Linked DNA regions of Homo sapiens: all the other regions are linked to region 4. The links are contacts of gene promoters, found by promoter capture Hi-C in blood cells and fetal thymus (Javierre and others, 2016). All regions are on one chromosome and are shown on one strand. Each heading gives the region's core, a stretch centred on a gene start or on the middle of the fragment in contact. The rest is flanking DNA. Distances are from core to core; before and after follow the strand shown.

Evidence for each region. The method cuts DNA at HindIII sites, captures the fragments that hold promoters and counts their contacts. A CHiCAGO score of 5 or more calls a contact.
Region 1: a fragment that was not itself captured here is called in contact with the fragment with the promoter of HSF2 in region 4 in 6 of 17 cell types (non-activated CD4 T cells, total B cells, fetal thymus and 3 more); the score reaches 13.4 in non-activated CD4 T cells.
Region 2: a fragment that was not itself captured here is called in contact with the fragment with the promoter of HSF2 in region 4 in 1 of 17 cell types (non-activated CD4 T cells); the score reaches 5.9 in non-activated CD4 T cells.
Region 3: a fragment that was not itself captured here is called in contact with the fragment with the promoter of HSF2 in region 4 in 5 of 17 cell types (naive B cells, naive CD8 T cells, activated CD4 T cells and 2 more); the score reaches 8.1 in naive B cells.
Region 5: a fragment that was not itself captured here is called in contact with the fragment with the promoter of HSF2 in region 4 in 1 of 17 cell types (non-activated CD4 T cells); the score reaches 5.4 in non-activated CD4 T cells.
Region 6: a contact is called between a fragment that was not itself captured here and the fragment with the promoter of HSF2 in region 4, in 1 of 17 cell types (total B cells). The highest score is 5.7, in total B cells.
Region 7: a fragment that was not itself captured here is called in contact with the fragment with the promoter of HSF2 in region 4 in 2 of 17 cell types (naive B cells and activated CD4 T cells); the score reaches 5.5 in naive B cells.

The regions. Positions count from the first base shown.
Region 1 is chr6:117,678,018-117,681,380 of GRCh38, forward strand. The region is part of intron 1 of NUS1 (NUS1 dehydrodolichyl diphosphate synthase subunit); the gene reads left to right. Among named protein-coding and RNA genes, the nearest start is that of NUS1, 4.2 kb to the left of the region's middle. The HindIII fragment of the contact is 942 bases long and covers 997-1,938 here.
Region 2 is chr6:117,590,895-117,594,196 of GRCh38, forward strand. All of the region lies in intron 1 of GOPC (golgi associated PDZ and coiled-coil motif containing), which reads right to left. Among named protein-coding and RNA genes, the nearest start is that of GOPC, 10 kb to the right of the region's middle. The HindIII fragment of the contact is 4,523 bases long and covers 1-3,302 here.
Region 3 is chr6:118,936,570-118,939,782 of GRCh38, forward strand. All of the region lies in intron 1 of LOC124901389 (a long non-coding RNA gene), which reads left to right. Among named protein-coding and RNA genes, the nearest start is that of MCM9, 3.0 kb to the left of the region's middle. The HindIII fragment of the contact is 727 bases long and covers 1,072-1,798 here.
Region 4 is chr6:122,398,299-122,401,869 of GRCh38, forward strand. HSF2 (heat shock transcription factor 2) reads left to right here and starts at 1,354. Exons shown (of 13, transcript NM_004506.4): 1 at 1,354-1,532. The coding sequence starts at 1,440. RefSeq lists silencers at 1,090-1,409, 1,680-1,799 and an enhancer at 1,650-2,149. The HindIII fragment of the contact is 3,471 bases long and covers 1-3,347 here.
Region 5 is chr6:118,881,895-118,885,457 of GRCh38, forward strand. The region is part of intron 8 of MCM9 (minichromosome maintenance 9 homologous recombination repair factor); the gene reads right to left. Among named protein-coding and RNA genes, the nearest start is that of ASF1A, 10 kb to the right of the region's middle. The HindIII fragment of the contact is 3,745 bases long and covers 1-3,381 here.
Region 6 is chr6:118,672,193-118,675,862 of GRCh38, forward strand. The region is part of intron 1 of LOC124901388 (a long non-coding RNA gene); the gene reads left to right. It also overlaps a transcript of CEP85L not described here. Among named protein-coding and RNA genes, the nearest start is that of CEP85L, 22 kb to the left of the region's middle. The HindIII fragment of the contact is 6,498 bases long and covers 1-3,670 here.
Region 7 is chr6:118,903,430-118,906,763 of GRCh38, forward strand. All of the region lies in intron 8 of MCM9 (minichromosome maintenance 9 homologous recombination repair factor), which reads right to left. It overlaps ASF1A (anti-silencing function 1A histone chaperone), which reads left to right. Exons shown (of 4, transcript NM_014034.3): 3 at 2,223-2,399. Among named protein-coding and RNA genes, the nearest start is that of ASF1A, 11 kb to the left of the region's middle. The HindIII fragment of the contact is 4,304 bases long and covers 1-3,334 here.

The DNA.
Region 1 (3,363 bases), core at 218-2,717, 4.7 Mb before region 4:
TACAGACTATAATGTTGCCACATTTCCTTGTTTCTGCAAGTCCTGTGTTTAAATTGCTGATGTGATTCAGAAGTATCCTGTGTCATAGTTGCTAAAAGAAAAATGATTAGTAATTAAAAGGAAGAAGTAAGCTAAGCCAAGTTTTGGCTGAGAACTGAAAGGCACCTTAAGGAGCATTTTCAGTGAAAGGGCTTACAGGATTTTGTATCTTAACTGTAAAATCAGTTTTTTTGTTTGTTTTTTTTAAAAGAATAAGAAATATTCCTGAAATAAGAGACCTTCAATTAGTCCATTCTTGGTTTTGATTCGTTCATACATTCATTTACAGGTGACAGTTGGGGTCTGTTAAGTACCAGATACTCTTCCAGACATGGGAATGCAGCAGTGTACTCATGGAACTTAGATTTCAGTGGGAGTCTGACAAATAATATACGTGGGTAAATATGTGGTAATGTAAGTGCAATGAGGAAAAGTAAAGCAGAGAAGGGAAGATAGGAATGTTGAAAGTCAGTGGTGTAGGAAGGGGTACAGTTTTAAATAGGGAGGCCAAGGAGAGGCTCTTTGAATATAGACTTGAAAATATAGGCCATGTGGATATGTAAGAATCACTCAGAGGGAGTATAGACATGTAAGCTTTATTTAGTGTTTCTTTTTCAGTGGTTTTTTTTTTTTTTTTTTTTTGAGACGGAGTCTCGCTCTGTCACCCAGGCTGGAGTGCAGTGGTGTAATCTAGGCTCACTGCAACCTCCGTCTCCCAGATTCAAGTTCTCCTGTCTCAGCCTCCCCAAGTAGCTGGGACTACAGGTGATGCGCGCCACCCCGCCCTGCTAATTTTTGTATTTTCAGTAGAGACAGGGTTTTGCCATATTGGCCAGGCTGGTCTCAAACTCCTGACCTCAGGTGATCTGCCTGCCTCAGCCTCCCAAAGTGCTGGGATTACAGGTGTGAGCCACTGCGCCCGGCCATATTCAGTGTTTCTAAATAAATGTCTATTTAAGCTTATTTCTAGATAGATATTTAACTATGAAAAATCCTATTGACATACTCGTAAATGCCACTGGGATACAAGAAGTACAAGAAATGGTGTCTCTTAAAGAGTTTCCACTCAAGTAAGGATGTCCATTAAAAATTAACACAAGCTAATATAGAAATGCTAAGTGAATGGCAGATACTTTAAGGAGCGAAAAATGGAAAATTTCCCGGGTTACCTCCATATTTGTCTGGTAAGGAAGGGAGCAACACCTGAGCTGGACCTAGTCAAAAAGATAGAATTGGGATTGGCGTGAACAGTGTTCTCTGTGTGTGTGAATGGGGATTTCCCTAATGGCAGCATTCTCATTAGACTAGGTTCAGTAATAGCATTGAGTAGAGTGTTGGGAGCAGTGAATTTATGTAATGAACAGTTGGGAAATGAGGTAGGATGAAGGCTTGGACAGCTATTCTGGTTACCTACTGCTTTGTAGAAATCTACCCAAAGCATAGTGTTTTAAAACAACAATTTATATATTGACTTAGTTCAGTTGGGCAGTTTTTCCTTTGGGTCACTCATAGCTTTCATTCAGATAGAGTCTGGGACCCAAAGGTTTCTCCTTATGTCTGGTGCCTGGTTTTTGATGGCTGAAATAGATGGGGCAGGTTGGTCATCTGGCTTCACATGGTCTGGAGGTTGACTTCAGGGTAACCAGTTAACTAACTTCCCCCAGAACAAATGTTTCCAGAGACTTGGCCAAAGGCTGAAGCTGAAAGATGTCTTAGGACCTAACCTAGGAAATCATGCAGTGTTATTTTTGCTATGTTCTCTTGGTCAGAGAAGTCTCACATCTGTTCTGCATCAAGAAAGTGGAGAAATGGACTTCACCTCTCAATGAGAAAATGGCTTGTGTAGAAAGGTTGGGTGAGGATTTGAAGGGAGATGGACGGGCAGCCACTTTGAAGACAAGCTTACCACCTTACATTTTATTCTGTCCTACACCCCTTTGCTCTCAAATTTGTACTTAAATTCGTTCTAATTATGGTTGGATCTAGATAACAACATTTAATCCTTAGACTAAAAGATCTATTATATTGACCTTAATTTGACTGCCAGCAAACTGATCTTTTTGTTTTTCACTACCTGCAATATTTCTTGATTATAATAGAGTCTGCAAGTAATTCTTTCATCTTTCAAAAATTCAGGTTGTTCTCTCAGGACAGTGATCAGGAATTTTTTGAGTTCAGAATTCTAGCGAGATTTGGCTGTTCTGTCTATATGATTATAATTTAAGAAATGACCATAACTGGGATGGTACAAGAACCAGGGGTTGGGGTAAATGGATTTTATTGTTCTAGCCTTAGCAGTGTTGTTTGCCTGTGTCTCACATGCAGGTACACTTGGCTCCAAGTTATCTGGATATGTATTGTTATCTTAAGTGATGGAACTTGTTCTTATTTCCTGGCTTTATTGTGCCTTGCTGGGAACCTTGCTGTTGATTGGTATTTTTCAAAACCTGTCTGTGGACCATCTGTGAATTAGTCATTGGGGATGCTTATAAAAAATGCAGATTCAACACACTTAGTAATCAAACTTAATGAGGGAACTGGGACCTGGGCGTCTCTGTTTTTATCAAGCTACCTGTATGATACTTCTGCACACTGAAGTTTAACCCTAACACAGATCAAAGGATACTCTGCTACTTGCCTTACATTAGATTATTTATATTTCATGTTCCTTTTCATGATTGAGGATAATTTGGGGTAAGCCTTAGGATTATTTGCTGTAAATTGGAATGATCCAGAATAAGGCATTGCCTTCTGTGTGAGAATTCAACAGTAAGACAACAAATTTTTTTTGTGTGCTGCTCTTTCTAGTGCTATTTCCTTAGTTTATTTAAATCGAAGCTAGGTTGCTTTTGAAATGGTTTTTGGGTACAGGTTTCTCACAGTAACATTTTAAAAGTCTGCCCAGTGTATCCTATCTTTTCAACCTGTTTCTCAATGCTTTGCATACCTTTTGCTATGTCTGTATTTAGGTATTTAATGTTCCAGTTTCCTGGAACTCCCTCTTCTCCTTTTTCTGGCAAATGGCTGTATGCCTACCAAGAGGCTATTGTTCATCTTTTCCGAGTCAATCCTAAATATCACCTTGTATATTTTTGCCTTTCTTGACTATTCACTCCGTTCCCTATCTTACTATATCTCTGAATCTCCTCAGAACTTCAAACATCTCTAAAGGTACTTCTGTTCTCTGCTTTGTGTAGTCATATTTGTATGTATATGTGCATAAACTTTCTTACTAGATTATAAGCTCCACAGATGCTATCCATCCTTCTCATTTTTGCTTTTCTTACAGAGTGTATCTTGGTGTTATGCATGTAATGAATAGTT
Region 2 (3,302 bases), core at 217-2,716, 4.8 Mb before region 4:
CAGGCTGGAGTGCAGTGGCATGATCCCAGCTCAATGCAACCTCCACCTCCCAGGTTCAAGCGATTCTCCTGCCTCAGCCTCCCGAGTAGCTGGGATTACAGGCATGCGCCACCACACCCAGCTAATTTTGTATATTTAGTAGAGATGGGGTTTCCCCATGTTAGCCAGGCTGATCTCAAACTCCTGACCTCAGGTGATCTGCCCACCTCAGTCTCCCAAAGTGCTGGGATTACAGGCGTGAACCACCACACCCGGCCCCAAATGTCCAATTTTAAAAAGGGGCCAAATACCAATTCTGTAATCCTTATATAAACCAATCTGATATCTATACCAAAGGAAGTACTCAGCAATGTGGTTTGGGAGCATGGAAGCAAAGAATACAAAAAACAAACAAAAAGCTCCTAGAAACCAAAATAAGTTCACAAAAAGATAATGCTGCCTTCTAAATCAGCTTCACAAAGCATTTGATGGTTCAAACTATTTCCCCTAAAACATGGTTCTGACCTTCAAACAGCTTACATTCTAGAGGTAGAAAGATGTGGTAAACGCTAATTATAGTACAATGTAACAAATCTAAAAGTACAAATAAGTTCAAGGGCTTAGGGCAGCCTCTGCCTATAAAGAGCAGAGAGGAGTGGAGTAAGGAAAGCCCTCTCTGAGACAATGACGTAAGTGGAGTCTTGAAAGATGAGTGTGTGTTTGATACTGTAGACAAAGGGTATAGAGAAGGCATTATACACCAAAGCCTATGTGAAAGTACAGGTGCCATAAAAGAGCAAGGCCTATTTACAGAACTGCAAATAGATCAGTTTTATTGAGGCAAAAGCAGCTAAGAAGGGGTGATAAGAGATAAGGAGAGACAGACAGGCACACTGATCACCGGGCCAAAGAATTTGAATTTTAGAGAGATACAGAAAGAAGAATGACAGAATTAGGTTTGTCTTTTTAAATACAAACCACTAGTATGAATCACTCTAGAATGATCAGGCAACCAAAGGATGGTTTGGAAGGAATAATGATTAGGAGACTATGTTAGGAACACCCGAGAAGAATAAGGACCTTAATTATGCAAAATATCCTAATCTTATCTCATTATCTTTCCCAGACCTGCTCCTCCTTTTCCTGTATTCCTTACTTCAGTAAATAGTAATGTATAAACTTCCTAGGGCTGTTACAAAAAATTAGCACAAGGCTGGGCACGGTGGCTCACGCCTGTAATCCCAGCACTTTGGGAGGCCAAGGCGGGAGGATCACTTGAAGTCAGGAGTTCGAGACGAACCTGGCCAACATGGTGAAACCTTGTCTCTACTAAAAATATAAAAATTAGCCGGGCATGGTGGCTGGCGCCTGCAATCCCAGCTGCTCAGGAGGCTGAGGCAGGAGAATTGCTTGAACCCAGGAGGCAGAGGTTGCAGTGAGCCGAGATTGTGCCACTGCACTCCAGCATGGGCAACAGAGTGAGACTCTGTCAAAAAAAAAAAATTACCACAAACGTGGTGGCTTAAAACAACAACATAAGTTTATTCTTTCACATTTCAGGATGCCCCAAGTTTGAAATAAGGTATGACAGGGCTGGCTCTTTCTGGAGATCCTGTGCCTCTCTCCCAGCTTTTGGTGCTGTTGGCAATCACTGGCATCCCTTGGCTTGTAGATACATCACTCCAATCTCTGCTTCTATCATCACATAGCCTTCTTCTCTGTGTCTGTGTGTGGCCTTTTCTGTCTCCTATCAGCACACTTTCATTGGATTTAGGGCCCCCTCTAATCCACTATAATCTTACCTCCATCTTTACATAATTACACCTGCAAAGACCCTCTTTCTAAATAAGGTCACATTCTGAGGTTTTGGGGGTGGATATGAATTTTGGAGGGATACGATTCAACCCACTACAGATACTGATCAATCATTTCCCAAACAGAAATGCAGTGTTATCCTTAACCCTTTCTCTTATCTCCTGCATCTACATAATTATCAAATCCTGTCAATTCTCCTTCCTTAGTCTTCAATTTATCTCCTTTTCATCAGCCCCATTACCACTTTCACTTCAATAACACACTTGTCTGTATAACAAACTCCTTTGCTATAACATTGAATAAACCTAGTTATTACTCTCATTACTGTGCCTGTACCTAAACAGATATGCATTGCTAGAGAAAATCACACAACAGTACAGACCGGTTGCACCATAATTTATGATAACTAACCCCAAGCCATTCCTCAACAATGCCTGGCAGTCCTGTTTCTCTGGCCAATTGGCTCTCCCACTCTTCCATTACTATCTCAAACCTCTTCTACTAGCCTCATGCTCTTACTCTCACCTACTTTTAGCAACTGACGTGGGCTCCTATTTTACAGAAAAAAAAAAGCCATCAGACAGAAACTTCCACAACCTCCTACTGTCTGCTCCCATTCTCTCCCTCTTCTAAGTAGCTGTTATTACAAAATCTTACTAATATTAACTACCCCACTCTTTTTCTATATTTGGCTTTTCTCTCAAGTAGATGCTTCTCACAGACTTATGTTTTATTTGTTTTTATTTAAAAACAAAATGAAAACAAAACCTCCCTTGTACCCTACAATCTCACTTCTTGCTATCTATTCAGCCACACTCACTCTTTCTGTCTGCTTCTCTCTCCACCTCCTCCATCCCCCATCAGACATAATGTGTTTGTGCAGAGACTGATTTCTCTAGCTCCGTAGCCTCAGGCCTCTTACTTAATCCCTGTAAAGTTGGAGTAACTATACTAATAAACCTGTTTCCAGGACTGTTGTGAGAATTGGATGAATCAGTCTATGTAAAAGACTCAGAAGAGAGGTTGGCCCATGGTAACTGATCAATAAAGTTGGCAATATTGTTATTGCTAATAATATAACACATTCATCTATCTATTCAGGCAACCAGCTGCACAAGATTGTCACTTGGATTTATCCTGAACTCCCTCATCCCTCTGTTCCAATCCATCTCTAGGTTTTTTTTATTTTTACCTCTCCAGTTTCTCTTGTTCTGAATACCTTCTCCTACCTCTATTATCTTACTCCACACTATCATAATCTCACATAAACAGAAACCTTCTAAACAATTTTCTGCATTCATTCATGTCATTCTCTGCAATTTTCTCCATACCATAGTCAGAGTGAACTATTCTAACTTCATATCTGAGGCTACGAACTGGTTTAAAAGACTTCCCACGATTATGATAAAGCCCCAAATATTTTTGCATGGCCATAAAGTCATGTAGAAATAGTCCCTCTCTGTCTGTTCAAACTTATCTTGTGCCTTGCTTCTTTTGCCCTCTTCTCT
Region 3 (3,213 bases), core at 185-2,684, 3.5 Mb before region 4:
ACATGGCCAGAAGAGAAGCAAGAGAAAGGGGAGGTAGTGGTCAGGCTCTTTTTAACAATCAGCTCTGGAGGCAACTAACAGAATGAGAACTCATTATGCAATGGCAGCACTAAGTTTTCCTGAAGGATCTGCCCCTGTGACCCAGACACCCCCAACTAGGCCCCACACTTGGGATCAGATTTTAAGATGAGATTTGGAAGGGAGAAATACTCAAACTATGTCAGATAGTGTGTAAAAATATGATTGGGGGTTTTGTTGTTGTTGTTACAGGTTCTTGCTCTGTTGCTCAGGCTGGAGTGCAGTGGTGTGATCATGGCCCACTGCAACCTCTGTCTGCCAGGTTCAAGCAATCCTCCTACCTCAGCCCCCTAAGTAGCTGGGTGATATGGTTTGGCTGTGTGTCCCCACCCAAATCTCACCTTAAATTGTAATCCCCAGGAGTCTGGTGGGAGGTGATTGAATCATGGGGCGAACTTCCCCCTTGCTCTTCTCATGATAGTGAGTTCTCATGAGATCAGGTTTTTTGAAAGTGTCTGGCACTTCCCCCTCACTCATTCTCTCTCTCTGGCAGTTCCCCCTCACTCATTCTCCCTCTCTCTCCCGCTCTGCTATGGTAAGACGTGCTTGCTTCCCCTTTGCCATCTGCCATGAATATAAGTTTCCCGAGGCCTCCTAGTCATGCTTTCTATTAAGCCTGCAGAACTGTGAGTCAATTAAACCTCTTTTTGTCATAAATTGCCCAGTCTCAGGTAGTTTTTTATAGCAGTGTGAAAACAGACTAATACATTGGAATTATAGGTCTGTGCCACCACACCTGGCTAATATTTTGGTATTTTTTTGTAGAGATAGGGTCTCACTATGTTGCCCAGGCTGGTATAATTGAATTTTTAACATTAATCTTGTATTTGCAATTTTGTAAAAACCACTTATGAGTTCTAACAGCTTTTCTTGTGGATTTTGCTAGATTTTCTATATATTCAGGATTTGTTATCTATGAATAAAGACAGTTTTACTTCCTTTCTATTCTGGAGGCCTTTTATTTCTTTTTCTTGTCTTTTTGCACTGACTAGAAGCTTGAGTACGGTGTTGGATAAAAGTGATGAGACCAGACATCCTTTCTTTGCTTCTGATCTTAGAGGGAAAGTTATCAGTCTTTTACTCTTAAATATGGATGTTAGCCCAGGGTTTTTTGTAGATGCCCTTTATTAAGATGTAGGAAGATTTGAGCACTTTTATCAAGAATGAATGTTGGATTTCATTAAGGCTTTTCTACATGTGTGGAAATGATCACTTTGCTTTTTTTTTCTTTTAGTTTCATATTTTATATATAGATTGAATTGTGTCCCTCCAAAAAAGATATATTGAAGTTATAATCCCCAGTCCCTTTAAATGTCACTTGTTTGGAAATAAGGTCTTTATAGAGGTAATTGAGATATTAGGAATTAGGATGGGCAGTAATCCAATATGACTTGTGTCCTTATAAAAAGGATAAATTTTATGGCTGGGCACAGTGGCTCACGCCTGTAATCCCAGCACTTTGGGAGGCCGAGGCGGGCGGATCATGAGGTCAAGAGATTGAGACCATCCCGGCCAACATGGTGGAACACCGTCTCTACTAAAAATACAAAAAAAAATTAGCTGGGTGTGGTGGCATGCGCCTGTAGTCCCAGCTACTTGGGAGGCTGAGGCAGGAAAATTGCTTGAACCCAGGAGGTGGAGGTTGCAGTGAGCCAAGGTCACGCCACTGCACTGTAGCCTGGTGACAGGGCAAGACTCCGTCTCAAAAGAAAAAAGAAAAAGCTTATAAAAAGGAAAATTTGGGCACAGATACACACACAGCAAGAATACCACATGAAGAGACACAGAAAAGATGGCCATCTACAAGCCAAGGAACACCTGAAATTACCAGAAGCTAAGAGAGAGACCTGGACAGATCCCTCCCTAGCACCTTCAGGAGGAGGATTTCCCTGTTGATATTTGGATTTTGTACTTCTGGCCTCCAGAACTGTGAGACAGTAAATTTTGCTTGTTCTGAGCCATTCAGTTGGTGGTACTTTGTTATGGCAGCCCTGGGAAACTAATACATCAATTGATACATGAATGTTAGATCAACTGCGCGTTTCTGAAATAATCTCCATTTGGTAATGATGTATTCATCTTTTTTATATATTGTTGAATTTGCTAACATACATCAATGTTTTTATTATACTTTAAGTTCTGGGATACATGTGCAGAACATGCAGGTTTGTTACATAGGTATACATGTGCCATGGTAGTTTGCTGCACCCATCAACCCGTCATCTACATTAGGTACTTCTTCTAATGCTATCCCTCCCCTAGCTCCACATCCCCTGACAGGCCCCAGTGTGTGATGTTCTCCTCCCTATGACCATGTGTTCTCGTTGTTCAAATCCCACGTATGAGTGAGAACATGCGGTGTTTGGTTTTCTGTTCTTGTGTTAGTTTGCTGAGAATGATGGTTTCCAGCTTCATCCATGTCCCTGCAAAGGACATGAACTCATCCTTTTTACATGATTTTAATTTTGTAACTTCTCCCTTTAATTTATTTTTACAGTTTTTATTGTGAGAATAGTCCATGAGGTTGACAAAAACTCAAGCCATGCTCTCTAATAGATTCCACTCCCCTCCTCAGAAAAGAACTGTCCTCTTTAAACTCAGTCAGTGTTAAGAGGATCATTACTGAATTTACAGATTCATTCTGCATAGATTTGGCTTCCTAAGAAGAGTATTTAAAGGGTGGAGCAAATGGCTAAAAACAAGGCTCTACCAATCATTCCCCCTCCACCCCTTAGGAACACCAAACTTAACAACTGTCTACACAAAGAACACAGTTATAAGAACCAAAAATCAGATGAGCACTCACAGTACCTGGTTTTAACTTCATATCACTAAAAGATCAATGAAGAGGGTAAGAAAGACAGTCTTGAATTGCAGATGCATCCCTCCCCCATACCTGGGCAGTGTCCACATGGTGTGGAGAGAGAATCTGTGCACTTGGGAGAGGGATAGCATAGAGATTATGGGACTTTACGTTGAAGTGAGTGCTTCCCTGTGACAGTGGAAAGCAAAATCAGGCTGCACTCAGCTGAAGCCCACCCGCAGAAGGAGTGTATAAACCAGCACTAGCCAGAGGGGAATCACCCATCCCAGAAGTCAGAACTTGAGTTCTGGCAAACCTCACCACCATGATTA
Region 4 (3,571 bases), core at 104-2,603:
ATTCAATAATATATGTAAAGCCCTTGGCATATATAAGGGCTCATCAAATATTACTTCCTCTATCACATGCATGCCTCCATATATCTGATTTTGCTTCAGCCAACATCCCAGTGCTGAGCACAAAGGCAGCATTCACTAAATACTTGCTCATTGGAAGAGATATACATATATCTTCCATTAAATGATAGATATATATTTAATGTACTATTTTACATTCACCCAAGAAGTAAACCAATCCTATGTTGAAGTTTTGTATGTTATCTCTGACTTGTTTGTAAGTTTTTGCCTTCACATGCTGACTTTTGTAAAAAAAAAAAGTCGAATTTTGTAGACTTCATATTTTCAAAGCATTTGCACAGCCATTATAGTATTAAAGACACTCTTAGTGGGTAAAAAGATAGATCTTATTCCCAGTCAAGAAATGGAAAAAACTGGCACTGGTGGCTAAGGAATTGTTCTAAATGACAGAACCAGTGTATTTTAATATACAGAAAAATGTCCAAGAGGCTTTATCTAAACTGAGATCTACTGACTCCTTTTCCATTGTTTTTTCCACTATACCAATCTCTTAGGCAAAAAAGACTATATCTGTAAAGTATACGCAGGAAAAACTATTTTAATTAACTAAAATAGTACAAATGAGTCTATTTCTTTTTATTCTGGGTACAGAGTAGGCACTTGATGACTGGATTAAAAACAGCACATGATATATCAATTGCAGTTCCTGGTTTACAGTTTTAAGTAATCGAGAGTGAGTTATTTAAACTGCTCTTTTTGATAAACATATTTTAAAGAGGGCTTTTTCTCCCAATGAAAATGTAAGAACAAGTTTCATTATTTTTAAGACAATTTCAATTTGGGGCCTAGCACATCATGCTTGAGAGCTGGTTTTTTCCTTATGCAAATGGATCCTTTCTCTAAACTGGTGCAAACCACACTTTGCCTGCCAAACTTATGACTCAAAGGCCCTGAAGGGTTTCTGTAGCCTCCCAGCCACAGCCCAGAAACCATAAGCTGTTTCCACGTGAAACATCCAAACACGGTCTCCCAAGCCTAAGTCTGCTACCATCAAGGCTTCTGTATAAAAGGCAAATGAGGAGGCAGCGCCCCCTTCTGCTCCCACCCCCTTCTGCTCCCACCCCCTTCATGTCAGCAGCAGCCAATCGCTTTTCTCTGTCGTGCAGTCGGCTCCTGGGATTGGCCAGGGACGGGACAGGCGCGGAACCACTGCGCGCACAGGCGGAGCGCGGAGACTTGTCCGTCACGTGCGGCCGCCCGGCCTCTCGGCCTTGCCGCGCGCCTGGCGGGGTTGGGGGGGCGGGGACCAAGATCTGCTGCGCCTGCGTTGTGGGCGTTCTCGGGGAGCTGCTGCCGTAGCTGCCGCCGCCGCTACCACCGCGTTCGGGTGTAGAATTTGGAATCCCTGCGCCGCGTTAACAATGAAGCAGAGTTCGAACGTGCCGGCTTTCCTCAGCAAGCTGTGGACGCTTGTGGAGGAAACCCACACTAACGAGTTCATCACCTGGAGCCAGGTACGGTCAGGCCACGGCGGCCTCTGAACCCCCTGAATAACCGCCTCCTCACTCGCTCTCCTGCGGGGTGGTCTCTCGCGGCCTTGCGGCTCGACGCTGTCTGCGAGGCCCGCGGTGCGGGGCCTTGGCGTTCAGCCTCGCGGGGGACCCCCTGTATTGTTCGCTCGGGGAGCCGCGGGGGCCCGGCCGGCAGCGCCGCTCTCCTCAGGCCGCGGTGGGGGAGGGGCGGCCCGCGCGGGGCGTAGCGGCCCAGGCAGCCCCTTAACGGTCCGGTCCGCGTTCGGAACCGGCCCGGCGTCGCGAGGGGAATCGGCGAGCCGAGGGCGCGGGAGCCTCTTTACTGCACACTCATCCTCCGTCCTCCCGCCCGGCTCAGGGGTTACAAATCGCGGAGGGGACAGGGAGCCCAGGGCCAGGATCATCAACGTGGGGCTTTATAGGAGGCGATCTTTACCTCAGCGACCGATCACCCCCAGTTCCCCCAACATTGCTTTGCATCTGGCATCTTTATGTGGAGAGCAGTCAGGGCAATAGACATACGTTCAAACGCAGGTTACTGCTTATCAGTTGGTTTTAAAAATATATAGAAATTAACAAATTATTCTTTTGAGATTCTGTGCTATTTGTATAATGGGATTATTAGGATTGTTTTAATAAAGTACTAATAGGTGGTAACTTAGTAGTTACTAAATTTCGCTGAACAGTTACCAGCAGAGGGGCATATCGATGTGTTGATTATTGGTTTGATCTCAACTCTGCTTCTAAACAAGCATGACCTTAGTCCAGCCCTTTATCTTGTCTGGCCTAAGTTAAATCTTTCATAAGATGGATGGGTTGCCTAGGTGACCCAAGACCTATATCAGTCCCAAATACAAGATTTTAGGCAGAATGATTATTTACATCCACAGTGCATGTGCATTAGAATACACTCCTAGGCTGTTGGAATCATTTTTATGAAGGAAAGTGGTTAACTCTTATTGTAGATGATCACCTATTGAGGCATATTTTCATATGTGTAGTTCTTGAGAAGAATAAGTGAAAACTACCTGCATAGTGCCTGGCACCTGTTAAGTGCTGAGTAAATGTTATCTCCCGTCCTCCTTTCTTTCCTGTTCTCCTATTATAGGAACTCTTAGTTTTATTTACTTTTGTCTTAACAGGGAGTGAGCACCATATTAAGACCCTGAAGTTTTGACTTCTGTAATACCATAGTTTGCCTTGTGTTATTATTTGTTCTTTTTTCCGACTTCCTTCTAGGATTTAATTTTTGTGTGTTCTTTATGAGCAACTGAGTTATCCTTTTAGCCCCACTCCCTGCTTGGAGTTGAGTAGGGGGGCGTGAGTGTTTCTATTAAGCATTTAATGAATTCTGTACAATTGTACAAAGCTAGGTGAAAATAAGAAAGCCAGCCACTAGCATGTACTTAAAATAAACACATGTCTCATGCTTTTCATCAGTTAGAAGGATTAAAAGTTGACAAGAAGGATCAGTACAGACTGTTACTCAGACACGTATTCGTGTTAGAGATTGGACTGAGATTCTCTCCCCACGAAAGCTGACTTTATCATACCTTTTTGTCTTTTATGGGCCAGAAATAGGGGCTATATATATTGGCAGTTGCTTTTAATCAGAGTATCATGTCAGTGGTAGGCCTATTAAATTCTGATTAGCAACAGTGTTTTAATAACATTCTTATTTTCTGAGTACTGTCAAATGTGGAGAGTTTCGTACTGATCCGTAAATGCATCATTCTATGAGTTCTAAGCCAAATAAACAAGCCACTTAACCATTTTTTAATCCCATTATTAACTTTAAGCTTATGTGTTAACCAATTTTCTAATATGCCAGTGGGACAATCAAAATGTAAGCTCAGTGAGATCACTGTGCCAGAGACACACTAGGTGTTTAATAATTGTTTGATGAATAAATGAGATCCCTCGAAAATGTAATGGAGTGGTAGGAATGATGAAGATAAAATTATATTTGAAATGACTCTTAGAGATCATCTAGGTTAGCCTTATCATTGTATAGATGAGGA
Region 5 (3,563 bases), core at 259-2,758, 3.5 Mb before region 4:
CTGGATGGAGGCTTCACTACAGGTGAATGTGGTCAAGAAGAGGAGCTCCCTATGAGCTCTTAATCAAGGGATAAGATATCGTACCAGGAGGGGTAGAAAGCATTTCTTATCCCCTCCACGTGTGAGGTACAGAAGCTAAATTCCTGGTGACTGTGGCCAAAAGGTCACGATCTTCCTTCCTCCACCCAATCCCAACGCACAGAGTAGAGGATCTACCCTAGGTGTGACAGGCAAAGAATCCTCGGCACCCCAAATGCCTTCAATCCAGCTGACTCATAAGGTAAAGGTTCCACCTGGAAAGACAAAGCCAATAAGGGCAGAGGCTACCATTTCCGCCCCCTGGCTGGAGCAGTAGCTCAGAGAGTTTGACCAGGGGGAGAGAGAGTCCACAAAAACAGGGAAAGGAAAATCTGAATCTTCCCCCACAAGAAACTGACTTTATTTGGAACACAGTGCAGGGAAATTCAAGCCTAATGGAGATTTTGGTAGCAAGTAATAAAAAGGCTGGTAGCTCTATTACAGCTGTATGCTAAACCATAGGCCAGCTAGTTTACCATAGAGAACCAGGGAAACAGCCAACAAGAGCACTTCTGGGGTCAGAACAAACCTCAAGTACTGGATTCAAAAAGTATCCCTGACCAAATTTAATTGAACCAGAGTGCTGAGCAACTTATCCCCAGGGCATTGCCAAAAAGAACAGAGCAATCAACAACTAGAGCCTACCAGCCGAGTATGATACCAAACAGCACAGATAGCTTAACAGAGATCAAGGAGAGAGTCAAGGAAAGGTTGGTTAAAATTATCATCCTAAGAGTGACTGTACACACACGTAAAGGCTGTTGCCTCTGAGGAGTAACATCAGCGACTTCACACTGTGAGGAGACACAGACTTCAAGAAATGAACCTAGCCAAGTTACTAAACAAGCAAACAACAATAAAAAAAAGGATAAAAAACGAGGCCTGGAGGAGAATTAATATAAAGAACTGGTATAATACATTAAATTAAAATATCCGGTTTTTAACAAAGAAGTATAAGATGTGCAAAAAAACAGGAAAATGTGGCCCACACACAGGGAGAAAAAGCAGACAACAGAAGCTGCCTGTGAGAGGATCCAGATTTCAAATGTAGTGGGCAAAGCCTTCAAAGTAGCCATTTTACATGTGCTCAAAGATGCAAAAAAAAAAAAAAAAAAAGGGATGATGACAATGTCTCAACAAATAGAGAATATCAATAAGAGATAAAAAGGATTTTTAAAAACCAAGTAAGAATTCTGGATTTGAAATGTACAATAACTGAAACAAAAAATTCACTAGATAGCTCAAGAGTAAACCTGAAATTGCAGAAGAAAAAGTCAGCAAACTTTAAGAGAGATCAGTTGAAATTATGCAATCCAAAGAACAGAGGTAAAGGGCAAGATAAAAAATGAGCAGAGTGTCAAAGAAATGTTGTACACCTTTAATCAGAATAATATATATATATTGGGAGTACCAGAAGGAGGGGAACTAAAAGGAGTAGAAAAAAAGTTAGAAAAAAATGACTGAAAACTCTCCAAATTTGATGAAAAACAATGGACTATACATTCAAGAAGCTCAACAAAATCCAAGTAGGATATATGTTTTAAAAAATCCACACCCATAAATCATAGCAGAAATGCTGAAAACTGAAGATAAAGAGAAAATTTTAAATCAATAAGAGAACAACTCTTCATTTAAAAGGGAGCCACAATAAAATTAAGAGCTGACTTCTAATCAGAAACAGTGGAGGCCAGAGGCAGTGGGATTACATATTCAAAGTGCTGAAAGAAAAAAAAAAATCGAACCCGGAGTCTGATATCCAGCAAAACTATCTTTCAAAAATTATGGAAAAATAAAGACATTCCCAGATAAACAAAAACTGGGAGCATCAGTAGCTAGCAGACATGCCTTAAAAGAATTACTAAAGGAGGTTCTTTAAGCCAAAAGCAAATCTCTCTGGGTGATAACTCAAATTGAAAAAAGAATGAGCACTGGCAAAGGTAATTATGTAACTAGAAAAAACAGTTTAGAGACACATATCTTTTCTAAACTGATTTTAAAAGCAATTGTATAAAAAAGTATATAATTGTATTGTTGGGCCTATAACATATAGAAATGCAATATATTTGGCAGTAACAGCAAAAGAATGCAGGTGGAAAGAAAGCTATATTGGATTAAGGAAATGACTCCAGATGGTAACTCAAATCTACAAGAACAAATGAAGAGAGCCAGAAATAGTAATTAAGAAAGTTAATATAACAAACTCTTGCTCTTCCTTCTTTTCTGAGCTTCTTCAAAAGGTATAAAATTACATAAAACAATAATTATACCAATGTATTTTTGTGTTTGTAACATATACAGATGAAATATGTGTAACAATTACAGCATAAAAAGGGGAAAATGGTATAGAATTGACAACATTTCTGTATCTCAGTGAAATAAAATAAGTCTACATCTGAAACACTGATACATTAAGTAAGCCCTATAACAACCACTAAGGAAATCATAACAAAAATAGAGAAAAATCATTAAAGAAATAAAAAATGCTATACTAGAAAATATTCATTTGATACAAAGGAAAGCAGTAAAAAAGGAATTTAAAAAAAAACAAAACAACTTGAGACATATAGAAGACAAAATATAAAATGGCAGATAGGAATGCAACCGTATCAGTAACATTAAATGTGAATGGACTGAATAATCCAATCAAAAGGCATATATTGACAGCATGGATACAAAAAAGAAAAACCAACTATATGCTATCTACAAGAGGTATTTTAGATTCAAAGAAAGAAATGGGTTGAAAGTAAAAGGATGGAAAAACATACGTATGTAAATATCAATGAGAAAGCCGGAGTATTTATACTAATACCAGACAAAAGATTTTTAAATTTAAAAAATTATTAGCAATTAAAATGGGCATTTTAAAAGGATAAAATCATCAACTCATAAGGATAATAAAACTAGGCAGATCAACAAAGAACCCTAAGATTAAAACAATAGCCAGCTGGGCGCAGTGGCTCACACCTGTAATCCCAGCACTTTAGGAGGTCGAGGTGGGTGGATTACAAGGTCAGGAGATCGAGACCATCCTGGCTAACATGGTGAAACCCCATCTCTACTAAAAATACAAAAAATTAGCCAGGCGTGGTGGTGGGCGCCTGTAGTCCCAGCTACTCAGGAGGCTGAGGCAGGAGAACGGGGTGAACCCGGGAGGCGGAGCTTACAGTGAGCTGAGATTGCGCCGCTGCACTCCAGCATGGGAGACAGAGCACTCCAGCCTGGGAGACAGAGTGAGACTCCATCTCAAAAATGAATAAATAAATAAAAATAAAATAAAAAAGAAGATCTCAAATCAGTAATCTAAGCTTCTACGTTAAGACACTGGAAAAAAGAAGAGTAAACTAAACTATTGGCAAGCACAGGAAGGAAATAATAAATATTAAAGCAGAAATTACTGGAATAGAGAATAAAAATAGAGAAAATTAATGAAACTAAAAGTTGACAATCCTTTAGTTAGGGTGACCAAACAAAAAAGAAAGAATCAA
Region 6 (3,670 bases), core at 504-3,003, 3.7 Mb before region 4:
GGCCTAGCTAATTTTCATATTTTTTAGTAGAGATGGGGTTTTGCCACGTTGGCCAGGCAAGTCTCGAACTCCTGGCCTCAAGTGATCTGCCCACCTTGGCCTCCCAAAATGCTGGGATTGCAGGCGTGAGCCACTGCGCCAGGCTTGATATATTATATTATTCTTTTAATTATTAAAGTTAATTTTTTTTAATATTTGTTGAATATTGACTATGTACTCAGATGGTGCTAGCTGTTATGGACGATATAAAGATATTAATAAATAAGATACTTGAATCTTTAAGATGCCCCATGGCCAGCCATTGTGGCTCACATCTGTAATCCCAGCACTCTGGGAGGCTGAGACAGGTGGATCACTGAGCCCAGCAGTTCGAGACCAGCCTGGGCAACATGGTGAGACTTCATTTCTACAAAAAATGCAAAACTTAGCTGGGCATGGTGGCACACACCTGTAATCTCAGCTACTCAGGAAGCTGAGACAGGAGAATCACTTGAGCCTGGGAAGCAGAGGTTGCAGTGAGCTGAGATCGTGTCTCTGCACTCCAACCTGGGCAACAAAGTGAGATCCTGTCTCAGAAGAAGAAAGAAGAAAGAAGAAGGAGGAGGAAGGAGGAGGAAGGAGAAGGAGGAGGAAGAGGAGGAGGAGGAAGAGGAGGAGGAAGAAGAAGAAGAAAAGAGAAGACAATGACAACGAAGAAGAAGAGAAAGAAGAGGAGGAGGGAGGAGGAGGAGGAGCTCCCATGTGTCTACATTACAAAGACAACTTGGTTTCCTTGGGTGTAATTGAGGTTCACTGCAAGAATGATGAAGAAAGATGAGGGAGGCAATGTGGAAGGACTAGCAACCTGCAACAGAAGCATGATCTGGCCTCCTGGTTCTAGTGCAGTGCTCTAATACATCAAGAGATTAGTTGCCAAGGTTGGGGGCAGGACAAGTATAGGAAACACCAGCATAAACACAAAATAAGAGTTAAAGATGAGGAAAATAGAAACTTGAACTAGTCAGGGTCACTAGATAAAAGCAAAGAATAATCAATAGAAACAGAGCCAAATCAGAAGCTGAAAGAATGGTTCTGATTCAAGATATTCATCTGAGTTTACATGTTTTAACTACCATTGAATATCCAAAGGGATATGAAAATATGAATTGGCACTTGCTGTGAAATTTAGAAGATTTCCAGTAAAGTGTTCTATGTTTACAGGCAAATGTGCCATATAGGGAAGTCAGAGAGGGGCAAATACCAGTCCCACCAGCAACTGTAGAAAGTCCAGTAAAGATAGAGTCTACACAAGGCAATATCTCATGGCATCCCAGCTTGCCCTTCATATAGACAGCGTACTGAGTAGTATCTCAGAAACCAGTGAGAAATTCTTTGGCACAATGGTGAGGTCTGTGGGCCCTACCACCTCTGCCCTACTCCCACAGACACTTGGAATGCCGATTTATTAAAGTAACTCTGGTAAATCTTGAAATTTCCTTTCTCCCATTGACTGTATCTAATATTTCAACAGGACCCCCAAACAATTCTGAAATTAACTGTGAACTCCACCCATGGACATAAACACAATCATCAGAATAAACAAACCAATGAACCATCTTCTAGATTAAAAGACTTAGTTGTAATGTAAAAAAGGAAATTAACCAGAGGAATAAACTTAAATGACCCCACTCGTGAAAGAGTTAATAATAAAACCAAAACAAAATAAAACAAAAATCTTTAGAAAAATCTCTAAATCTTAAAAAATCTAGAAAGATGCTGAGTTACCAACAAGATTCAAAAGAACATTACACCATATGCACACCATATGCAAAATTTAACACTAAATTGATCATAGGCCTAATTGTAAGAGCTAAAACTATAAAATTCTTACTAGAGAACAGGGGCATAAATATTTTTGACCTTGGAAAAGGCAGTGGTTTCTTAGATATGACACCAAAAACACGGATAACAATAGAAACAAAGAGATTGTACTTAAATAAATTGTACTTCATAAAAATTATGAATATTTGTGCTTCAAAGAAAACCTCAAGAAAGTGAAGAGAAAACCAGTGGGCTGGGCATGGTGGCTCACGCCTGTAATCCCAGCACTTTGGGAGGCCAAGGCGGGTGGATCACAAGATCAGGAGTTCGAGACCAGCCTGGCCAACATGGTGAAACACTGTCTCTACTAAAAATAAAAAAATTAGCTGGGCATGGTGACAGGTGCCTGTAATCCCAGCTACTTGGGAGGCTGAAGCAGGAGAATTGCTTGAACCCAGGAGGTGGACATTGTAGTGAGCCGAGATTGCGCCACTGTACTCCAGCCTGGGCGGCAGGGTAAGACTCCATCTCAAAAAAAAAAAAAAGAGAGAAAACCAACAGAATGAGAGAAAATATTTGCAAATCAAATAACTGATAAGGGATTTGTATCCAGGACTTTTACAACTCAACAACAAAAAGACAATCTGATTTTAAAGCTATCTGAATAGACATTGCTCCAAAGAAGATATACGCATGACCATAAAGCAAGTGAAATGATGCTCAACATTATTAGTTATTAGAGAAATGCAAATCATAACCATAATGAGACACCATGTCACATCCTGTAGAAAGGCTATCATTTTTAAAAAAGACATAAAAGGCATTGACGAGGATGTGGAGAAATTGGAATCCTCATACACTGCTGGTGGAAATGTAAAATGATGCAGCTACTTTGGAAAAACAATTTGGCAGTTCCTCAGAAAGTTAAACACAGACTTACCATATGACTTAGCAATTCTACTCCCAGGTATTTACCCAAGAGAAATAACATGTTTACACAATAACCTATATACAAACATTCATACCAACATTATTCATAATAGCCCAAAAATAGAAATAACTCAAATGTCTGTCAACTCATAAATGGATAAACAAAGTGTTACACACACACCCACACATGCACTCACATACAAGGGCATATTATTCAGCAATAAAAATGGAGTGCTGTTACATGCTACAACATGGATGAACTTTGAAAACATTATACTAAGTGAAAGAATCCCGACACAAAAACCACATATTTTATGATTCCACATAAAATATATACACTTTATATTATATATATTGTCTATATATATAGGCAAATTCATAGAAACAGTAGATTAGTGATTGCCAGGGGTTGAGGGAGGGGGCAATAGGGAGTGATTGCTAATGACTATGGGGTTTCCTTTGTGGATGATGAAAATGTTCTGAAATTAGATAATGTTGATGGTTGCACAACTCCAAAAAGGTACAACCATTAAAAACCGCTAGACTGTGCACTTTAAAAGTGTAAATTTTATGGTATCTTAAAAAACTATCAATCATTTAAAAATTACATTTTAAAATAGGAACAATTTAAGATTAGAAAAGATTCCTTTTGAAATAAAAATAAGATTGCTAGAATTAAAAAAAAAAAATGACATGGAAGCTGGGCACAGTGGCTAACCCTTGTAAACCCAGTGCTTTGGGAGGCTGAAGTGGGAGGACTGCTTGAGACCAGAATTCAAAATCGGCCTGGACAACATAGCGAGACCCCAAGGCAACCCAGTAAGACCCTGTCTCTAAAAGAAAAAAATGAAATGGAAGCAGTAAAGAGCAAAATTGGAAAGTGACAAAAATCAAATCAGTGAATTTGAAGAATTCAGAGAAAAGTGATAAAGGAGTGAAT
Region 7 (3,334 bases), core at 501-3,000, 3.5 Mb before region 4:
GAGCTGAGCCACACGAGATTATAAAGATGAACTGGATGGGACTCCTGCCCTGGATAAAGCATAGCATCTAGAAGAGAAGACTGAAAAATAAACATGTTTAGATCACAGGGCATACGTTCTTAGATAATTTGTGACAAGAAATATCAGCACATAAAAAAGGAATCTATTGATTCTACCTTCTGAGTTAGAAAGGGCGTCACTGAGAATACACTCGATGTAAGCTCCAAAAAAGATTAAAAGATGAATTTTTCAGGATGTGAGCGAAGGACCTTTCAGGCCAAGGGAACAGTATGTTAGAAGCACAGGGGGTGAAGTATTTCTTTTTTAAATTTGTTTTTGTAGAGATGGGGTTTCGCCATGTGGCCCAGGATAATCTCAAATTCCTGGGCTCAAGTGATCCACCCACCTTAGCCTCCCAAAGTGCTAGGATTACAGGCGTGAGCCACCGTGCTCAGAGCGTGAAAAGATTATCACCACGTTTTAAAGAACCTGTGTGATTCATATCTCTAGAACAATGGTGGAGTTAAAGGAGGTATGAATGGAGATATTGGCTGGAGACAAACTGAGAAGGGCCTTGTCAATGAAGTTAAAGAACTGAGATTTTATCCCTTAGAAAAGGGAATACTCTTCTGAGGGTTTTAATAATCTGAGGTTTTAAAACCAAAGAGAAAGAACATATCTGTGTTAATGCTGGTAGCAGTGCAAATGATAGGCTAGAGCTGGGGAGATCAGTTAGAAAATTCTAAGCAATATTCCAGATAGGAGATGACATGAATTCAGCCTCCAGAAATGAAAAAAATGTTGAGACTGACTAGATGTAGGAGATAAGGGAGTGAAGCTGACTGAGGTTTTTAGCCTAGGACACTAGGTAGCGATTTTATGCCTTTTTGTATCATCTACCTGTGTTAGGCATACAGTAAACAACAGTCTTCAATTTTCACAAGCTAAGGCATTGGCTAAAGTGCTCATCTAGGCCCAGGAATATTCCTTGGTGCCCTGGCAACAGGTAAGCTAATTTGCTGGGACTTGATCCATTTACCACCCAGAATGGCTGCCTCAGATGCCTCAGCCATCACTGCCTGTGTTCCCCAGTCTGGCTCCTTCCATCCGGTCGTCTCATTACTACCTGCACCCTACCACGGATGGGGCCCTGCCCTTCGCTCATGCTCTTAGTCTAGTCTAACTCAGTTTACTTTCTGCATTCCTCAAGGTTCACCTTACAATAGCTTGATTTAAAACAAGGTCTTTGACATCTGCCTAAAGCAATCCTTACCTTCACTGGTTTCCACATTATGTGTGGTTTAAAGAGCATACTATATTGTAGAGTCTAGCAAAGTAACTATTCATAATAGAGGATTATTAATATTTTTTGAAAATCTGCTATGTAGCTATTTCCATCTCATTTTCAGTTTTGTTTTGTTTTGTTTGAGACGGAGTCTCACTCTGTCGCCAGGCTGGAGTGCAGTAGTGCGATCTCAGCTCACTGCAACTTCCACCTCCTCGGTTCAAGTGATTCTCCTGCCTCAGCCTCCCAAGTAGCTGGGACTACAGGCACCCGCCACCATGCCCAGCTAATTTTTGTGTTTTTAATAGAGATGGGGTTTCATCATGTTGGCCAGGATGGTCTCAATCTCTTGACCTCATGATCCACCCACCTTGGCCTCCCAAAGTGCTGGGATTACAAGTGTAAGCAACCACACCCAACCTCATTTTCAGTTTTATACTAATTTACTATTAGAATACCTGTGGGGGTGGTTGAGTGGGTATGAGAATATAAGTATCCTGGGTTGAAGAGGGAAACTGGTATAATAAACATTTGTGGCCAACAGTCTATGAGGAGATCATTTAATACTTACTAATTTAGGTCTGAAAATTATGACTGAAAAGGTTAAAATCAATTGCTGACTATAAAGGTTTTATAATGAATAGTGTATAATCCTTTCATGAACCACCATGCAGTGTAGCCAGAATTTCTTCCTTTTACAAGTGTAGTCATGCTTTCAAGTATCAAGGGTCCTTACATATATTGTGGCAAAACATGAACTGTCTTTTCCAGCTTATTATAAGTCAGTCAGAAATGAGCATTTTCCTTCCCAGTATGATTTCCAAGTTTTTCTTGTTGCATCCTCAACTGATGGTTCTAGGTAACTGAAACTCCAGTCTTGCCTGCCACTAACAGCCTTTTGTGTGTGTGTGTTTCTTTTCTTTTTAATTTATTCTAGGCTGATGCACCTAATCCAGGACTCATTCCAGATGCAGATGCAGTAGGCGTAACTGTTGTGCTAATTACTTGTACCTATCGAGGACAAGAATTTATTAGAGTTGGCTATTATGTAAATAATGAATATACTGAGACAGAATTAAGGGAAAATCCACCAGTAAAACCAGACTTTTCTAAGGTAATGTTCTTACTATTCCTTTTTAACTACTTTTACTATGCAATTTTTAAAGCAGTTGCTATTGCAATTTCATAGTATACTATTAAAATGGCTTTGAGATAAAATAAATATGAGGTCCTTATGCCAACTGGGCAAACTAATTATTGTTCCATTACCATGGATGACTTCAAACCCTACCTTCAGATGAGTCATTAGTAATTAATGTAGGCAGACACCTTGAGCATTTCTGGTTTAGAAAAATGAAAGTACCTCTTTTTTTTCTGAGATGGTTTCCTGCTCTGTTGCTCAGGCTGGAGCGCAGTGGCATGATCTCGGCTCACTGCAACCTCTGCCTCCTAGGTTCAAGCGATTCTCCTGTCTCAGCCTCCCAAGTAGCTGGGACTACAGGTGTATACCAACACGCCCAGATAATTTTTGTATTTTTAGTAGAGGTGGAGTTTCACCATGTTGGCCAGGGTAGTCTCCAACTCCTGACCTCAAGTGATCTGCCTACCTTGACCTCCCAAAGTGCTGGGATTACAGGTGTGAGCCACCACGCCCAGAGAAAGTACTTCTTGTAAGACAGGCCTTTGTTTATGGCTTTCTTTATAGCATTTCCCATATTGATTATTCCCATCATGATTCTGTTCATTTCAACCTTTAGGACAAACAAATGCATTTTTGTTGTACTAATTATTCAATGATGATATTTTTGTGTGTAACTCTTCCCAAAATTATGAAAGTTTTATGTTTGTTTTTCCTATGAATACGGTTATCTCAAAACACCTATACGCTTTATCTGCTATTCTTAGAAGTTAAACTAACAGTCTTAAATATTTCTGGTACTGAAAACAGCTTAAATTCTGAGTGAGAAGCTGAAATCTAGGATTCAGCATTCTTAAAGATACTTAGTATTTTCTGATTTTTCACTGGGAACTATAACAGTTTGGTAACTG